Linked DNA regions of Homo sapiens: region 2 is linked to region 1. Evidence: promoter capture Hi-C in human tissues and cell types (Jung and others, 2019). All regions are on one chromosome and are shown on one strand. The core of a region is centred on a gene start or on the middle of the fragment in contact, and the rest is flanking DNA. Distances in the headings are between cores, read along the strand shown.

Region 1 (3,038 bases), core at 378-2,877:
AAGATAAAAAATGGTTCACCTATACAGACGAGCTCCATTATAATCTATGGGACCACTCATATATGTAGTCCATCATTGACTGAGGCATTGTTTTGCAGAGCATGACTGTATATGTGCGTGTGTGTATATATATATAAATGTACATATATATATATAAATATATGAGACATTCTTATAGTTATATCCACACTTCCACTCCCACCCCCATCTTCTTTCCTTCTTGTCCTAGGATTCCATGTTGATGGTCCTCCCTCTGCAGGCAGAGCCACTGAAGGTTTCCATTCATTAAATACTATTCCCGTCTTCAGGTTAAATCACTGACTAAGTGGCTTAGTGACACCCTTTTAGTCAGTTTCAGAGTCAGAAATAAATAAACAGGAGATGAATTGTCCAAGAGATATTAGACAGTACAGGGATCAGAAGCAAAAGAAATGTGGGTAGAATCCTTTGAAACATTTTTACCACATTTTACCAAACTTGTACTAACTTAAGATGGTATCTGAGTTATCGTCTCCCTAAGCAGTTACAGGATGAGAAGGTGACCATCAACCCTGCATTGTATATTATTTACATGGAGAAAATGTTTGTCCTCATACCTGCCATTTCTAAAAATATATTTTGAAACTCAAGTATTTTGCTAAAATGAAAAAATAGGAAACTCACACCTCAGAAATGATGGACGGATGTGTGAAATAACCCCCCTCTCTTCCCTCACCTCCAAAGAAAAAATAGCACCTTACACAGTTACAAAGCTATTAAAAACCCAAGTGGAAGCCAAGTTGAGGATATTTTCAATGACAGTCACATTTTTGTTATTTTTCTTAAACTATTCTTTGCTTAAACTGCTTCGTGGGTAAAATTCAAAAAGTCCTGGATAATTTGCATGTTCACCCAGAATCCTTTCTCTTTTTTTGCAGCTTAGTAGAACTCAGCATGTTAAATAACATGAGTTTATGTAATCACTGGTAGCAGAAGTAAACCTCAGAAACTTCTGGGCCAAATGCCTAAAGAATGAATTCACTTCTCTACTCTTAGAAAATCACCACAGCAGGATGGAAGAGGGATTCCCTTGAAAACTTTTAACACTCTGGCAGTGGGTGCTTGAGAAGTAAGCTGAACACTTTCCATCCTGAATCCCAAGCCTCTCAACTCTTCCCTGAATCTTCCTCAGATCTGCTTTTGTTTTCCCCAATCTCTCTTCTCTGCCTCCCATCCTCACTCCTAGTCTCTTTCAAGCCCAAACTGCAGAGAGGAAGCAGGTAGTAACATGCTTGAATTCCCTAATCCTTTGGTTGTTACTCACCAGGAGAGAGAAAAGGAGCTGCTTACAGAAGATGCTCCCTGGGGCAGCAGAGGCCAGAGCCATCAGAAGCAGTCCCAATGGCCAGGGACGGTGGCCAGATAACAGGGCAGCCTGGGATGCACAGAGCGGCTAAGAAGACGCTGGCACTTGCACAGGGTATTCTGCTGCCACCTTGATGCAGCTGAGCTTGGTTTGGAAGACAGTCCGGAGGCAAGTGATAAACAGTAGGAGGAGCAACGGGAGAATTTCTTTCCCCCTATTCCCTGGCCAGTCTCCTTCCTTCCAGTTCAATTACGTCTAAATGCAAAGAGGCTTTCCTACAAGTGAGGAGGGTGGGGTACAAAACACCCCAAAACCCAGTCAGTAGCTCCTCCTCACAGCAGCTTTCAAAATTTCTCTTGCCACTTAACACATAGGCAGAAGGAGGAGGGAACACCCTTCATCCTCAGCCCTCCTCCCTTTCCCCCAGGTTGATGCTGTGAAGTCCTCCCCAGTTATTACCCACTCCCACAGCCTCCCCTCCTTCTTGGCCTTATTAACCTGTCTTGCCCTCGGGTACAAACATAAATTGTGCACAAACGCCATGCAAGGAAGTGATGCCTCCTCAACTGCCATTGGCAAATCAGAGGACCTAAGCGTGTGTAATCACACTCATCAGAAGTTATCTCCCATCTAAGCATTTAAGTGTCATCGGTCCTGTAGAACACTGTAGTTCTGCTAGAGAACTGGCATTCCAGTTTAAAGCAGCAACTTCATAAAGGCATGGTATCTACTTCCTGTTATTGACTATTCACTGTGGTTGGTTCTCTAGATGTCACAGGAAACTTATCAGAATGTAAAGACTTCATAAAAGAAAGAGAATAAAGAAATAGCTAGCATATAATCTTTCTTGTGGCTTTCCTTTTGTTGTACAAGATGCCACTGCTTTTTACCTTTATATTTTTTCAAGGACAACTACAATCTTTGAGAGCAAGTCTCTCTAAAATCACTCTATTCACCCTAATTACTTGTACATTACACATAGGATATCCTAGCTTAATAGTACAATCAGGCCATCAAGTGTAGATTTTTTTAAACCCTAATGATTCCTCTAACAAGAGCTTTAGCATCATTATTCCTGTCCCAAATTAGTGAGCTCAGTGATACCAATTGCACTCAATGGCAGTGATGGAAGTTAGGACAGAAGGATAAATATTTTCAAATGTTAAGGTAGAGCCCAACACCCATGCTGCTGAGAAGGGAGGAAAGAAAGGTTTTCTTCAGCTTATTTGACAATGGGAACAATTTCTCCTTGTATGTAGAGACAGAAATAAATGTAACTGCTTCATTAGAATTAGAAGCTAGGAAGATTTGGAAAATGAATGACCCAGGAGAAAAAAAACTAAAAGATATCTTGTAGTATTTTATTGCTAGTGGTATACCCACTAATAAACATATTTTGTGACTGCATTGGAATTTGATTTCTCAATCAGAAAATACAGTCATTTTAATGGAATATTTTTATATCTGGCGTTTTGGGAGAAAAGAATGGGAATATAGAAATAGAAAAATTACTTAGATGTATATGTGTACAGCCAAGTGTAATTCTGTGCATGTTTAAGCATCATCTAAGTATATATTTAGATAGATAGATAGACAGATAAATAGATAGTCATACAGCTTAAATAATTCAAAGACAAATTCTCCAACCCTAGAAAATAGAAACACATTTTTTTCAGCTAATGAAGTTATCATT
Region 2 (3,038 bases), core at 264-2,763, 86 kb after region 1:
TTTATTCTCTAATAATTAATTTAGCTACCTTTAAGACAAGTCAACTGAAGAACACGTCTTAGTTTTTCTTTCTTGCTCATGATAGAAAAAGTTTCTAAGAAATAAGCCTCTGTACTAAATACTAGTCAAATTCTGAAAGGCCCAGTCACTGGTAAAACTAGCACCACAAGTCAGAGCTGCTAACTACCGCTTAGGTACTAGAACCACCTCCCTTGTGAAGTGTTAATGGCCTCAGCCCAGCTCCTAGCAGACATCTGTCTACATCACACACAAAATAAATTTAAATTGGCAGTGTCTGCAGAGAAAATGACATTTCATGGATGTGGAAATAAACCAACCCTTCAGATAAGAAATGACCTCACATTCTAGAGATAGTCTCTTCAGGGTGAGCTCTGAGAAGCCAAACTTTTTCAATTCCTTTCTCACTATTTCCTGACCCATAAAGAACAGACAAAACAAACGATGCCCTCAGACCTTTTGCAATAAGAAACACATCAAACTCTATGAGCAATTAGAGCTATTGTGTAATAGTGGTGATGCACGTTTCTAAACGTATTTCCACTTCTGTTTTACCTCAGTTAAACACTCATATATTCTCCTAATGGTATGGGATAAGGGGAACCGTGCAGGTGTCAACTATAATTATTGTTTTCCCTGTTTTTAGTCAGAGATATTTGTCCCTCACCTCTGTTGAAGAAAACATACATAACCAGAATGGCAAATAAACTGGTTAGCACTTTGACATACTCTAAATATTCTCTATCAACATGACCAATGCATTACAAATGAGCAGCTACATTTTAAAAATATTGATGGAAACCTCCAACAGTATCTTTGCTTCCATTTCGATTCATGCCACCTAAGATATAAGCACTATAGGTAATATTGATGAGAATAAACAATACCAAAGCATCTTTTGCACATTATCCCATTTCAGCTTTCTCTTGGATGTTATCGAGTAGTAGTGTAGATTATTCACATTACCAATATGGGTGATAACTCACCAAAGTTTTTTGTTTGTTTGTTTGTTTGTTTTTGTTTTTGTTTCTGTTTTTTGAGTCAGAGTCTTGCTGTGTTGCCCAGGGTGGAGTGCAGTGACACGATCTTGGCTCACTGGAACCTCTGTCTCCCAGGTTCAAGAGATTCTCCTGCCTCAGCCTCCTGAGTAGCTGGGATTACAGGCACCTGCCACCACGCCTGGTTAATTTTATTTATTTTTATTTTTTATTTTTTGTATTTTTAATAGAGACAGGGTTTCACCGTATTGGCTAGACTGGTCTTGAACTCCAGACCTCAGGTGATTCGTCTGCCTCGGCCTCCCAAAATGCTGGTATTACAGGCGTGAGCCACTGCACTTGGCCTCATAAAAGTTTTTTAAGCAAAACTAATGGACCACAGAGTTATTCATTCTTGACTCTAAGCATCAAACTTATACACATACTTGAGGTTTGTATATGAACATGCATGAGCCTGCAGGGGAAGGCTATGGTGTTAGAAATAAAAGTCATTCTTGTTTGCCAGAAATGTATATCTGAAACTAAGTCACTTAAATTAGTCAAGAAGTCTCCAGAGAAACAAAACCAAAAAGAGATTTAATATAAGGAATTAGCCCCCCTCCATAATTGTGGGCAAGTCCCAAGCTCTCTGCAGGGTGAGTTGATGAGCTGGAGACCCAAAGAGCAGATGATATAATTCCAGTCTCAGCGCCAGCAGACTTGAGACCAAGGAAGAGCCAATGTTTCTGTTTGAGTCCAAGGCAGAAAAAAACCTGATGACCAAATTCAAAGGCAGTCAGACAAAAGGAGTTCCCTCTTACTCATAGACAGTCTGCCTTTTTCAGGCCTTTGACTGCTTGAATAAGGCCCACTCACATTAGGGTGAGCAATCTGCTTTACTCAGTCAACCAATTCAAATGTCAATCCCATTTGAAAACACCCTCACAGAAACACCGAGAATGATGTTTCACCACATATCTGGGTGTTCCATAGCCCAGTGAGGTGGACACAAAATTAATCATTATACCAACACTAGTATCAATACTGTTAGGATGATTCCTTTTCATCAGTAATGAGCCCAGAAATATGTTAAGATACGGATCAAATAGAAGATCATCATTCATCATATTGAATAATCTATTGATGGAGTAAAAATTGTTTCCTCTTCCACTGATTGTATTATAGGTGGTGTTTGGTGAGCTATACCTGTCATTTAATGCAAAAAAGAATTCAGATGATGCTGGGAAATTTTAATCACGAGTGTTCTTTACATAATAGGTATCATGATGGCAGTGAGGTTTGGAGTGAAATGTGTGGAGTGGGACTGAGGGAATGGTTCCAGGAAGAAAGAAAGCAAAAATAATGATAATAATAAAATAATCAGGTTGTTTTCTCATGGGAGCAAAGCAGGCATCCGTTTTTTTCTGCCTGAGCACAAGACAAACACCAAATAAACAGCAAAAGTTACTTAAAAGCCATTTCTTCAATTTCTCCCAAATAAGGCCAGAATTAGTTATAATTGAAACAGAAAAAATGTACAGACAGAGTTCCAGATATAAGATCAGGATATTTAAAAACAATGGAATCCAGTCAATGTGTGAAAAATTTTTCAAAAGCTTAGGTGTCAACTGGTCAAAATTAGAATTCTGCATTGATAGGAAATTCTTCAGTTTATAAATCTTAACAAAAAATGGTTCCCTTGTTTTTACCAGCTAGAAGGAAATCTAAGAAGTTTGACTTTAATTCCTTCAAAAATACAGAAAAATCATAATCTTCTCTATTCCTGTTTGTTACATAAGTTACAGATTCACATGAAGTCCCAGGATAGCTTCTGTCGGCTTTGGTGGCCTGTTGCAGCAGCCAGCAGCAGGAAACTTGAGGAGCTATCATCTCAGGAATGAACGGGGCCACATCAATAAGGTAAAACTAAGGTCACTCAAGTCCTAGACCCTCATTTTGCCTTATTTTTCTCCCAAGGGATTTTTAAAATACCATAAAAATTGAACCATCAAAAAATCACGAAATAAACATGTTTGTAGTAAT

The links. The method cuts DNA at HindIII sites, captures the fragments that hold promoters and counts their contacts. A contact is called where the count stands out against the background at its distance.
Region 2: a fragment that was not itself captured here is called in contact with the fragment with the promoter of DSC1 in region 1 in 2 of the 25 tissues and cell types used here (aorta and neural progenitor cells).

Annotation. Positions count from the first base shown.
Region 1 is chr18:31,161,229-31,164,266 of GRCh38, forward strand. It overlaps DSC1 (desmocollin 1), which reads right to left and starts at 1,628. Exons shown (of 16, transcript NM_024421.2): 1 at 1,304-1,628. The coding sequence starts at 1,366. It overlaps DSCAS (DSC1/DSC2 antisense RNA), which reads left to right. Exons shown (of 4, transcript NR_110785.1): 4 at 1,307-1,561. The HindIII fragment of the contact is 13,832 bases long and covers 1-3,038 here.
Region 2 is chr18:31,247,530-31,250,567 of GRCh38, forward strand. LOC105372049 (a long non-coding RNA gene) reads left to right here. Exons shown (of 4, transcript XR_001753388.2): 2 at 2,795-2,915. Among named protein-coding and RNA genes, the nearest start is that of DSG1, 69 kb to the right of the region's middle. The HindIII fragment of the contact is 4,740 bases long and covers 1-3,038 here.